Regions from separate parts of the Homo sapiens genome. Here all the other regions are linked to region 3. The links are contacts of gene promoters, found by promoter capture Hi-C in human tissues and cell types (Jung and others, 2019). All regions are on one chromosome and are shown on one strand. Each heading gives the region's core, a stretch centred on a gene start or on the middle of the fragment in contact. The rest is flanking DNA. Distances are from core to core; before and after follow the strand shown. Region 1 overlaps ZNF594-DT (ZNF594 divergent transcript). Region 2 overlaps NUP88 (nucleoporin 88). Region 3 holds the start of SHPK (sedoheptulokinase).

Region 1 (4,476 bases), core at 1,735-4,234, 1.6 Mb after region 3:
TGTGCCGCTGCACTCCAGCCTGGGTGACAGAGTAAGACCTTGTCTCAAAAAAAAAAAAAAAAAAGTACATATCCTTGATGTTTTTGTCGTTGTTTTTCCCAAATCTCAAATTGTAAAGAATTGTGAAATTATTAGACTAGTAAAAGAAAAAAAAATAAAGTAGACTAGTGATACAATACAACAGTGAGTTGCTGTATGAAATGTTCATTTTCTTTTCTAAACAATACTGTGAAAAGCAGGGTCACATTTATCTTAAATGTTCTCAGAGGAAGTTTTTCTTGGTCACTGAGAATGGCTTTGTACAGTATCAACATTACATGTATCGGAAAATTTATTTTTGTTTGGGGGCTCATTGGGGATAAAAGTGTACAAGTTATGCAAATAAACCTTTTTTAACATCAGGGGAATTTCGTTATTCTTAAATACTACCTTCTGCAATTTTTGTTAAAACCATGTTCCACTAACACCTAATTTGTAAAAAAAAAAAAAAAAATACAGAGGGATCTAGTGTTAAAACAACTTAAAGGCTGTTAGTTTATAGTTCACTTTGTAAATGAGAGTTTATTTTTACCAGTTTAGGGCTTTTTAAAATTATTCATAGAATATTTAATTGTTCAAGTGTAGCTGATCTAAAACTTTAATGGCATTAAATTTTGGCAATGGAATATGTTGATCAGGCTGGGCGCAGTGGCTCATGCCTGTAATCCTAACACTTTGTGAGGCCGAGACAGGTGGATCACCTGAGGTCAGGAGTTCGAGACCAGCCTGACCAATATGGCGAAACCCGATCTCTACTAAAAATACAAAAATTAGCCGGACGTGGTGGTGGGAGCCTATAATCCCAGCTAGAAAAAAAGAAATACGTTGGTCAATATGAGAGGTTGAGTTTTACAGTTGAAGGGGAAGGGTGCAGCGATATTAATTGGCTGTTTCTGACAGTAGTTTGGCACATAGTTGTATGTACACTCTGCTCCAGTAAAATGAAATGCGACCACAGTCAACGGTTACCTATTTATGCTGGAGGGTGTTTGGCAATCAACTGTTAATTTAAGTGAGATTCCATTCTGCCGCTTAGCCATGGCAGAGCACACACATGTGCACTCAGGGAAAGCAGATGGAATAGGTTATAAACAGAAGCAAACTCCAATTCAGGAGACATGTTCACGCAGAAATAGTACTATGATGCAACATACATCACAAAAACAAATGGAAATTGTGTTTGTTTGTTTTTGAGATACAGTCTTGCTCTTTCGCCAGGCCAGAGTGCAGTGGCACAATCTCAGCTCACTGCAACATCCATCTCCCAGGTTCAAGCGATTCTCCTGCCTCAGCCTCCCGAGTAGCTGGGACTACAGGTGCGCACAACCACGCCAGCTAATTTTTGTATTTTTAGTAGAGACGGGGTTTCATCATCTTGGCCAGGATGGTTTCGATCTCCTGACCTTATGATCCGCCTCAGCCTCCCAAAGTACTGGGATTACAGGCGTGAGCCATGGCGCCCGGCAAGAAATTTTTTTTTAAATCTGTCTTTAGGGGATTATCTAGCTATTAGTGGGGTTAAATGAGGGAACTGTCGCCTCGGCAGAAGAGATGGTCCACTGTATTCATTTGTCATAATAACCAGACTCCTGGAGTTACTGGGTTCTAAAGTTGTTGATACAGCATGAATAGGTTTGGATGTGGAGTTCTGTATGGAGGATCCTTTCAACGGGAAGATAAACCAAAATTGTTGGTCGTAGCCTTTTGGACTACTGACTTAAGAGATTATTTGAATCTCTTTAAAGAGTCAAAATTGGCTGGGCGCGGTGGCTCATGCCTGTAATCTCAGCACTTTGGGAGGCCAGGGCAGGTGGATTGCTTGAGGTCAGGAGCTCAAGACCAGGCTGGCCAACATAGTGAAACCCCATCTCTACTAAAATACAACGATTAGCCAGGTGTGGTGGTGGGCACCTGTAATCCCAGCTACTTGGGAGGCTGAGGCAAGATAATCGCTTGAACCTGGGAGGCGGAGGTTGCAGTGAGCTGAGATCGAGCCACTACACTCTCAGCCTGGGTGACAGAATGAGGCTCTGTCTCACACACAAAATAAGCCTGTATTGTTGTAAATAGATTGTGAAGGGTGATTCTGGTGAGGGCTCAGAAGAAGAGGAGAGCTACAGAGAAAGCCTCAGTTTTCTTAGAGATTACCTAAGAGGTTGTACCAGAAGGCTAGTAGAAGTATGGATGTTAAAGGCCATTCTGATGAGGTCTCAGATGGAAATGAAGAACATGTTATTGGAAACTGGCAGAAAAATGATCCTGATTATCTGGCAAAGAATGTGGCTGAATTGTATGTCCTAGTGTTTTATGGAAGGTAGAAATTCTGAGTGATGAAATAGGATATTCGGTGGAAAAAATATCTGAGTAAAGTGTTGAGAGTGCGGCAAAGCTTCTCTTGAATGCCTGTAGTAAAATGCTAGCAGAGAGAAACCAATTAAAGATGGTCTTTCTTTCTCTTTCTCTCTCTCTCTCTCTTTCTCTCTCTCTCTCTCTTTCTTTCTGAGACAGAGTTTTGCTCTTTTTGCCCAGGCTGGAGTGCAGTGGCGCGATCTTGGCTCACTGCAACCTCCACCTCCTGGGTTCAAGTGATTCTCCTGCCTCAGCCTCCTGAGTAGCTGGGATTACAGGTTTGTGCCACGACGCCTGGCTAATTCTGTATTTTTAGTAGAGACGGGGTTTCACCATGTTAGCCAGGCTGGTCTCGAACTTCTAACCTCAGGCGATGTGCCCTTCTCAGCCTCCCAAAATGCTGGGATGACAGGCATGAGCCACCGCCCCCGGCCAAAGATGTTATTTATGATTTAAAAAGCAGCAGAATTTAAATATTTAGAAATTTACCAACCTGCCCATGTTGTAAAGAATGAAAAAGCTTGTTGAAGAGAAAACACCAAGAATGTGACCAAGGAAACTTTTGATAAGGAGGTTAGTGTGGGGAGATGGAAGCCAGATGCTCAGCATCACAGCGAAGAAGGACCCTGAAACCATTCCGAAGATCTTTAGAGGCTGCCCTGCCCATCACAGGCCCAGAAAACTAGGACCTTGAAGTCAAAGCGATTTCAAGGCTCTGCTCCCTGCATTCTGGTGCAGGGCTCCTGGCATACCCTAGCTGTGACTCAAGTGGGCCCAGCTGTGACTCAGGCCATCCCTCTGGGAGGCATAGACAGTAAAGCATGGTGGTGTCCAAGCAGTTTTATCTCCACAGCTGCGCAAAGTGCATGGGCTGTGAGGGCATTGCTACCTCTACCTAGATTTCAAAGGATTCCTGGGGGAATCTTGAGGCCCAGACGGAGCACCGCCAAAGGGGCAGGGCCACTGCGGAGAGCCCCCACTAGGGCAATGCCCAGCACAGCCATGGGGACGGGGGTGCCTCCAAGACCCCAGAATGTTAGGGCCACCAGCGTGCAACTCCAGCCTGGGAAAGCTGCAGGTCCGAGACTCCAACTCATGAAAGCTGCAGAGTGGGCTGTGCCCAGCAAAGCCATGGGGGGGCCGCCCCGAGTCTTGGAGGCCCAACCCCCATCCCAATATCTGGGGGGTAGGACGTCAAGTCAAACATTATTCTCAAACCTTAAGACTTAATGTTGTTTGCCATGTTGAGTTTCGGACTTACTTGGGACCCATCACCCCTTTCTTCTTTCCTATTTCTCCCTTTTGGAATGGAAATTTCTATCCTATGTCAGTCCCACCATTGTATTTTGGAAGCATACTTACATTGTATAAGTAGTTTGATTTCACAGGCTCATAATTGGAGAGCAATTTGCCTCAGGATGAATCATATCTTGACTTTTGCCCAGACTTGGAATGAGTCAACATTTAGTTGAGATGTTGACTTAGACTTTAAAGCTGTTATTGGAATGAGTTAAGACTTTTAGGGCTATTGGGATGGAATAAATCTATTTTGCATTTGAGAAGGACATGGATTTTGTGAGGTCATGGGCAGAATGCTATGGTCTATGTTTGTGTCCCCACAGAATTCGTATGTTGAAATCTAACCCCCAAGATGATGGTATTAAGAAGCAGGGTGTTTGGGGTGATTAGATCATGAGGGCCCTGCCCTCATGAATGGGATGAATGCCCTTATGAAAGAGGACCCAGGCTGGGTGCGGTGGCTCATACCTGTAATCCCAGCATTTAGGGAGGCTGAGACAAGAGGATTATTTGAGTCCAGGAGTTCAAGACCAGCCTGGGCAACATAGTGAGACTCCATCTTTACCAAAAAAAAGGAAGAAAGAAAGAAAAAAAATAGGCCGGGCGCGGTGACTCATGCCTGTAATCCCAGCATTTTGGGAGGCCGAGGCAGGTGGATCATGAGGTCAGGAGATCAGGACCATCCTGGCTAACATGGTGAAACCCTGTCTCTACTAAAAAAATGCAAAAAAATTATCCAGTTGTGGTGGCAGGTGCCTGTAGTCCCAGCTACTTGGGCGGCTGAAGCAG
Region 2 (4,110 bases), core at 1,013-3,512, 1.8 Mb after region 3:
AGCCTGCAAATCTACTTATGTGTTTGTTATATAAAAACCCAATATTGGCCAAGCACGGTGGCTCACACCTGTAATCCTAGCACTTTGGGAGGCCGAGGTGAGCAGATCACTTGAGGTCAGGAGTTCGTGACCAGCCTGGCCAACATGATGAAACCCCGTCTCTACTAAAAATACAAAAATTATTTGGGTGTGGTGGCACACACCTGTAATCCCAGCTACTCGGGAGGCTGAGGCAGGAGAATCACTTGAACCTGGGAGGTGGAGGTTGCGGTGAGCTGGAGGCTGGAGTGAGCCAAGATCACGCCACTGCACTCCAGCCTGGGCGACAGAGCGAGACTCCATTTCAAAAAAAAAAAAAAAAACCAAACAAACAAACCCAGTATCGTATCATCTCTATTTTCAAGGGAAAGTATAATACTGAATTTTTTTAACCAAAATTATTTTAATTTAAAGTAACCTACATTTCACAGCATATAAGGCTATTGTGAAAAAGGGAATTTTCAAAAGGCCAGTAATGTCATTTTAGAAATCCAGTGTCCCTTATAATCACTTATTTTGTCTGACGCCACTAAGAATTTTTTAACTTGGTTTCTTCCAATATCAATAAAATGCCACATTAAGTATTTAATAAATTTTTAATGATAACTTGATCCATTTGAATACACATTTATTACAGTCTTCCTAGGTTCCTACAAGCGTTACTAACTTCAAAATACACATAAATACTAGGCAATAATGTTGTACTGGGGAACAGTGAAAGAAAAAGAAGGTGCAACAGGGCATTCGGTGAAAATTTCCTTTTGCTCTGAAACTGCCCAAAATCTCCAAAGCTTAGGAAAACAGAAGTGTTAAATACCACATATTTTAAAAAAGAACCTTCAATATTTGGGGCCAGATACTTCCTTTGGGGCTTAAGAACTGTACCTATGCTATCTTCCCACCATCTCCTTTTCCATCATAGCATATAAAAGGAAGACTAAGAAGAGAGGATGTCAAAGATTCCTTAGGAGTACAGTATAATGTTTGTAATGGGAAGATTTTCCCTCTCCTCTTTCTCTGCCCTGAACTCTAAAGCCAAATGGGTGGGCAGGGAAGGCTCTAGGAAACAGCCAGATGTGGAGGTACCTGTAATAAGGGAGACTGGTGCATTTCCTAGCTGAATGCCCCTTAGTCACTTAGTAGCTGTCTCAGTTATAAGATCGAAAAAACATAGCAATACACACGTATCACGTTCAGTACTATCTACAGTTTCAGGCATTCACTGGGGGGTCTTGGAACACACACCCTGCAGATAAAGTATACTGTACCCCATCTTGAGAGAAGATTCAGGGCATAGAGAACTGACAGGAGCCAATGGGAGCCAGAGCTCCTCAGTGATGGGGGGAGCTGGAAGTTCAACACTGCCCTCCAACACCACCCCACCCCCCCACATACACACACACAAACACACCATCTATGCAGAGACTACCACATCAACAGAGTTCACTAGTGACAGATGGAACGAGATTCAAACAAGATCAGGCATACTTCCCCATCACTCACAGGCTACCAGTTCGGTAAGATCTCTACCTCACCTGTCCCACTCCCCTACCCCACACTGAAGGAGTTAGATTTGGAGGAAGGAGGGGGCAGCCCATTCCTTACACTTCACCCTATGTTCCAAAGTGCTGGGATAACAGGAAGAGTGAAAGAGCAGACCGCACACTCTCCAATCACTTCTGATCCCACAAAACACAGGTCTGACCTACAAAAGGGCCAGGACATAGTTGTGAAAGATTTGAGATCAAATAGCTTTCGACATTCTTATTTTCTTTAGACAGGGTTTTACTCTGTCACCCAGGCTGCAATCTTCCTACCTCAGTCTCCTGAGTAGCTGGGACTACCGGCACATGCCATTATGCCCAGCTAATTTTTTTTGCAGAGACAGGATCTCACTGTATTGCCCACATTGGTCTCGAACTCAGGGGCTCAAATGATCCTCCCACCTCGGCCTCCCAAAGTGCTGGGATTACAGGTGTGAGCCACTGCAACCAGCCAAGATGAGTTTTAAACTGGACACACTGTTTTCATAACTAGAAGTAACGAGAAAGCTATGGGGATCTGTATAAGACATCATTAAGGGGTGAGTCATTCAGCAGTGAAGGAAGATTTAGTAGAGCACAGTTAAAAGCAGTGATTACGAAAAATAAAACTGAAGGTATCTGTACCTCTGCTGAGTCCCCCCAATAACTTTTTACATAAGGCCGATCCAGAAAGTTAGCTGATAATAGAGTAGAAATCTACGTAGCATTAGGGCATTTAATCATAGAGTGCAAAGCTTGGAAGGGGCGTTAGAAACTATTGAATCAAACCTGCTCAATTTAAAAGATTGGAAACTGAGCCCCCCAACCCCTAAAAAGCTCAAGATCTCAAAGATAACAGAAAAGGAGGTGGGACAATAATTCAAATCTCTAAATTTACACTTACATTCTCTTTCCTTTATGCTACATTATTACCAAAAGGGTGACAATGATGAAAGAGTTTTGGAAAGATTATTCTAAGGTGTCAGATTAGGAGAGGAGATACCTGGAGGCAGGAAGACTAGTTGAGAAGGAATAGTGGTAAGTTAGAGCAGTTAGGCAATTCTTATGATTGAGAATGGGTTACAACAGCCATCCAATAAAAGCACTGACTCATTCAATGACTCACTTCGTTCTATGTTGAGCTGTTAATTGGCAAACAGAAACAGAGCTTTCCCACTCGCAAGGCTTCAAGAGAGAGAAATAAAATTTACCTGATTACGTTGTCTGATGTTAACAGCACTACGTGGGGATCCAGGATTTCACTTGGATACCATGCAGCATGCTTTAGAGTCAGAGAGGTGGAACTGGTGAAAAATCTCTCCGCAACTGGAGTGGTACTAAAATAAAGATAATAATTTTCCAAAACATTTTGTACAACTTGGATGAAAATCTTCTAAAGGAACTTCTTTTTTTTGCAGATGGAGTTTCTCTCTTGTTGCCCAGGCTGGAGTGTAACGGCACAATCTCGGCTCACTGCAACCTCCGCCTCCCAGGTTCAAGTGATTCTCCTGCCTCAGTCTTTCAAGTAGCTGGGATTACAGGCACCTGCCACCTCGCCCAGCGAACTTTGTATTTTCAGTAGAGAGGGGGTTTCTCCATGTTGGTCAGGCTGGTCTCAAACTCCCGACCTCAGGTGATCTGCCCACCTCGGCCTCGCAAAGTGCTGGGATTACAGGCATGAGCCACCACGCCAGGCCCTGAAGAAATTTCTATTTTAACACTCTTTGATTCTCTTTCCTTCAGATTTATTTCCCTGAAATCATGCTGAGAGGACATTCAAGGCATCTATTCAATCAATATCAAAGAATTGAAATAAAAATATCTTCTAAATTATAGCACACTGGCTGGGCGCAATGGCTCACGCCTATCTTAGCACTTTGGGAGGCCAAGGCAGGTGGATCACCTGAGGTCAGGAGTTTGAGACCAGCCTGGCCAACATGGTAAAACCCCGTCTCCACTAAAAATACAAGAATTAGGCAAGTGTGGTGGCACATGCCTGTAACCCGTTACCCGTGAGGCTGAGGCAGAAGAATCGCTGGAACCCAGGAGGTGGAGGCTGCAGTGAGCTGAGCTTGTGCCACTGCACTCCAGCCCGGGCTGAGGAGGTTGCAGTGAGCTGAGATCACGCCACTGCACTCCAGCTTGGGCTACAGAGCCAGACTCTGTCTCAAAATAAATAAATAATTTATTTATTTTAATAATTTAAATTATTTATTTAAATTTTATTTGTTTATTTATTTGAGATGAAGTCTCACTCTGTGGCCCAAGCTGGAGTGCAGTGGCGTGATCTTTGCTCACTGCAACCTCCGCCTCCTGGATTTAATCAATACTTGTGCCTTAACCTCCTGAGTAGCTGGGACTACAGGCGTGTGCCACCACACCCCACTTATTTTTTGTATTTTAGTAGAAATGAGGTTTCACCATGTTGCCCAGGGTGGTCTCAAGCTCCTGAGCTCAGGTGATCCACCTGCCTCGGCCTCCCAAAGTGCTGGGATTACAGGTGTGAGCCATCGTGCCTGGCTCCAAATTATAGCATATTTCATACGTA
Region 3 (4,366 bases), core at 717-3,216:
GCCATGCTGGGTGCGGTGGCTCACACCTGTAATCCCAGCACTTTGGGAAACCGAGGCAGGCAGATCAGTTGAGGTCAGGAGTTTGAGACCAGCCTTGCCAACATGGTGAAACCCCATCTCTACCAAAAATACAAAAAAATTCTCCAAGCATGGTGGCGCACACCTGTAATCCCAGCTACTCGGGAAACTGAGGCACGAAAATCACTTGAACCCGGGAGGCAGAGGTTTCAGTGAGCAGAGATTGCACCACTGCACTCCAGCCTGGGTGACAGAGCGAGACCCTGTCTCAAAAAAAAAAAAAAAAAAAAAAGAAGTGCTCTATTTCAGGAGAAACTGGCACTTTCTGAGCCTACTCTCCCCTAATGCCAGCTCTCCTGCTCACCCCACCAGGGTCAGAGCCAACTTTGCCTCCAATTCATAGTCCTTTAAGTAAGAATCCTTTTAATATGCCCTAATGTCCCAACCAAACTAATCTTGAAAGCTTCTATGTAGATACAAAGTGCTCCTGAAATCCCTATCCTCAGAAATGCTTCTGAGCCAAATGGGCTCTGAACCCTAAACAACCGTGTCCATGTATGTGGCAAGAGCTTGTGAAAAACAAAGCTGGGCCAGGCGCAGTGACTCACAACTGTAATCCTAGCACTTTGGGAGGCTGAAGTGGGCAGATCACTTGAGGTCAGGAGTTCAAGACCAGTCTGGCGAACATGGCGAAACCCTGTCTCTACTAAAAATACAAAAAGTAGCCGGGCGCGGTGGCTCACACCTGTAGTCCCAGCTACTCGGGAGGCTGAAGCAGGAGAATCACTTGAATCCAGTTGGCGGAGGTTGCAGTGAGCCCAGATCACGCCACTGTACTCCAGCCTGGGCAACAGAGCGAGACTTGGTAAGAAAGAGAAAGAAAGGAAAGAATGAAGGAAGGAAGGAAGGAAGGAAGGAAGGAAGGAAGGAAGGAAGGAAGGAAGGGAAGGAAGGGAAGGAGTCTCGCTCTGTCACCCAGGCTGGAGTGCAACGGAGCGATCTCGACTCACTGCAAGCTCCGCCTCCCGGGTTCGCGCCATTCTCCTGCCTCAGCCTCCCGAGTAGCTGGGACTACAGGCGCCCGCCACCACGCCCCGCTAATTTTTTGTATTTTTAGTACAGACGGGGTTTCACCGTGTTAGCCAGGATGGTCTCGATCTCCTGACCTCGTGATCCGCCCGCCTCGGCCTCCCAAAGCGCTGGGATTACAGGCGTGAGCCACCGCGCCCGGCTGACCAAAGGTTTCTTGGTCCGCATTCTGCTTCTGTGGAATGAGCCAGGAGCCAGTTAGGCCTGATTTGACATCTGATTTCCGGAGGAAAACCCAGACTCTGCCCTGGGCAACAAACTGAATCCTGAACTTGAGGTCACAGGGCAGGTGTGAGGAGCGGAGAGCAGCAAGAGTGAAAGGGAGGCCTGTGGTCATTCCATACACACAAGAGATCAGTTCCTCCAAGGTCAGGGGACAGAGAGCACAGGGATCCAGCGCCAAGCGCAAGGCCCCCAGAAGAAGCCAGAGAGTCGGGGAGGGGGCGGGGGGGAATCGGTCCCAGCAGGTGGGAAGGATTCTGGGACCAGACCTAAGGGATCATGAGCACAGCTGCTGCAGGCAGACGGGCCCCTGGAGAAGCTGGGGACAAGCTGGAATAGAGACTTCATTGCGGGAAGGGCTGTCAGGGAGGCCTCCTGGGGTGGAAAAGGGTGGTCAGGAGGCTCCTGGAGGCGGCGCGGCCCCGGGGGTCCAACTCACCTGGGGCCCGGCCACCGCGCTCTCGACCGCCGCCTCTGCCCGCGCAGCACGGGCACAGCTCGCCAGCACTGCGAACCCGGATGGGTCGTCGGGCGCGGCCCTCAGCAGAGCTGCCTTCACAGATGTGGTGCCCAGGTCAATGCCGAGGGTGATCGGCCGCGCAGCCATTATCTCCCTGACCCGCGCAGCTCCAGTCTGCAGCCAGCGGCCCCACAAGTCCGCGCTCTTCGCCCAGGGGGGCGGGGCAGGGGCGGGGAGTCGCCTGCCAATCTTTCAGCCACACCCAACATGGAGGCTTCTCGTCTTCCCACTGGCCGGGGAAGGCGAGCTTCCACGCAACCTCTCGGCGGGCCCCGGCTATAGGCGGAGAGGCGGCGGAAGGCGGGACCTAAAGGGGGCCCCGCCCCACGGGCTCTGATTTCCGCCCAATGGAGGGCGGTCTGAGCTTCGCTCACGAAAGGAGCCGGGAGGCGCTGGCGGCTCCAAGAGTCTCTGTGTCCCTGGCAGCGGACCTCATCTTCCCTCACGCCGGAGCCCCGATCTCTGCGCCCCGGCCCGACCCAGCTGCGCTCTGTCCGTCTAAGACGCGCGGAAACTACAACTCCCAGAGCTCATCTCGCCGAGATCCGGCCCCACGAGTCAGGTGGCGGAGGTCAGGTGACAGCGGACCCGCCTCTCCCAAAGTCTAGCCGGGCAGGGGAACGCGGTGCATTCCTGACCGGCACCTGGCGAGGCTCATGCGTCCCGTGAGGGCGGTTCCTCGAGCCTGGGGGCGCTCAGGTGAGAGCGGACGCGGCCTCCCCTGTTTCCCAGGCGGACCCCTTGAGGCACAGCAGGTCAGCGGGGCAGCCTGCCGGGGGTCCAGCGCCCTCAGCCGCGGCGGGCTCCTTTCCCCGCCACCAGTGCTGGCCTCGCGACACGGGACAACCCCCGGGTGGAAGGGCCCGAGCGGTGGTCAGCCGAGGCAGGGGCAGCGGGCTGCCGGGGTGGGTGCCGTTCCCAGCCCCTTACCTTCTGCTCAGTTGCCGCCTGGGTCTCGGTTGGGGAATTTGCAGATTGCTTTGGAGACGCTGAGAGAACCTTTGCGAGAGCGCCGGTTGACGTGCGGAGTGCGGGGCTCCGGGGGACTGAGCAGCACGAGACCCCATCCTCCCCTCCGGGTTTTCACACTGGGCGAAGGGAGGACTCCTGAGCTCTGCCTCTTCCAGTAACATTGAGGATTACTGTGTTTTGTGAGAGCTCGCTAGGCGCCCTAAGCAACAGAGGTAACCACTTTATATCCTTGTTTCTCAACCTCGTTATTCCTACCTACCCCCTTCCCATAAAATTTAATACCACTAGTACGCTGTGTATTTGTTTCTGTGGCCACAAACCATTGTAATAGCTAGATTTCTTCACTACCACCCCAAGCCAATTTTTTTTTTTTTTTTGAGATGGAGTCTGCAGCCTCTGTCACCCAGGCTGGAGTGCAGTGGCGCGATCTCGGCTCACTGCAACCTCCGCCTCCGGGGTTCAAGCGATTCTCCTACCTCAGCCTTCCGAGTAGCTGGGACTACAGGCCTGAGCCACCATGCCCAGCTAATTTTTGTATTTTTAGTAGAGATGGGGATTCACCATGTTGGCCAGGCTGGTCTCGAACTCCTGACCTCAGGTGATGCGCTCACCTCGGCCTCCCAAAGTGCTGGGATGACAGGCGTGAGCCACCGCGCCCAGCCTACCCCCAGCCAATTTTAGTCCCACTTGACAATGCGTGCTTTACATCTCCTCATTTAAGTCCTGTGAGGTAGTTACCACCTCCTTGTTTGGCACCACAAGGTCGCATAAGTAATAAATAGGTCAAGCCTGTCTCCAGTGCACACAGCCCTTGCCACTATTTGTGTACCCTCTCCAAAAGCAGGAGACCCAGGGAGTTCCAGGTCGTAGAACAGAGGACAGGACCAACTCATACCTGGCAGACAGGAGCTGCCACACTAGACCCCTAGCCCCAGGTTGCTCCTGGGAAGGGACTGAATGGGTGAGGAGCCTTCTTGAAACATGTGACATCTGAATGAGGCCTGGACAATAGTTAGAACTTACATAGGAAGGGCACGCCAGACAGAGCCCATTGTCAGGAGATACTTCATTTCTATCTTGTAGCTTTCACAAGCCACTAGTTGTATGTAATTATCAATCTGGTTTTTTTTTTGTTTTTTTTTTTTAATTTGAGACGGAGTTTCACTCTTATCACTCAGGCTGGAGTGCAATGGTGCAATCTCGGCTCACTGCAACCTCCACCTCCCGGGTTCAAGCGATTCTCCTGCCTCAGCCTCCTGAGTAGCTGGGACTACAGGCACATGCCACCACGCCTGGCTAATTTTTGTATTTTTAGTAGAGACGGGGATTCACCATGTTGGCCAGGCTGGTCTCGAACTCCTGACTTCAAGTGATCCAACTGCCTCGGCCTCCCAAAGTGCTGGAATTACACACACGAGCCACTGCGCTCAGCCTAATCTGATGTTTTTTAACATTTTAATTGACTTACCTCTCAATGTCGTTTTGTCTCTGCTGGCATCGTTCCTCCAGGGGTCTCAGCCTTTGAGGCTTGGGAATGTTTGCTGA

Evidence for each region. Contacts are between HindIII fragments. The study calls those that stand out against the background at their distance.
Region 1: a fragment that was not itself captured here is called in contact with the fragment with the promoter of SHPK in region 3 in 2 of the 25 tissues and cell types used here (aorta and pancreas).
Region 2: a fragment that was not itself captured here is called in contact with the fragment with the promoter of SHPK in region 3 in 1 of the 25 tissues and cell types used here (aorta).

What each region holds. Positions count from the first base shown.
Region 1 is chr17:5,200,224-5,204,699 of GRCh38, forward strand. The region is part of intron 1 of ZNF594-DT (ZNF594 divergent transcript); the gene reads left to right. Among named protein-coding and RNA genes, the nearest start is that of ZNF594-DT, 10 kb to the left of the region's middle. The HindIII fragment of the contact is 6,214 bases long and covers 1-4,476 here.
Region 2 is chr17:5,411,236-5,415,345 of GRCh38, forward strand. It overlaps NUP88 (nucleoporin 88), which reads right to left. Exons shown (of 17, transcript NM_002532.6): 3 at 2,774-2,899. Among named protein-coding and RNA genes, the nearest start is that of NUP88, 6.4 kb to the right of the region's middle. RefSeq lists an enhancer at 2,069-3,268. The HindIII fragment of the contact is 3,817 bases long and covers 355-4,110 here.
Region 3 is chr17:3,634,284-3,638,649 of GRCh38, forward strand. SHPK (sedoheptulokinase) reads right to left here and starts at 1,967. Exons shown (of 7, transcript NM_013276.4): 1 at 1,769-1,967. The coding sequence starts at 1,936. It overlaps CTNS (cystinosin, lysosomal cystine transporter), which reads left to right and starts at 2,477. Exons shown (of 12, transcript NM_004937.3): 1 at 2,477-2,548; 2 at 2,824-3,033. LOC105371493 (a long non-coding RNA gene) reads right to left here. Exons shown (of 6, transcript XR_007065579.1): 6 at 4,214-4,366. RefSeq lists enhancers at 1-384, 2,223-2,472 and silencers at 1,683-1,742, 2,753-2,842. The HindIII fragment of the contact is 13,000 bases long and covers 1-4,366 here.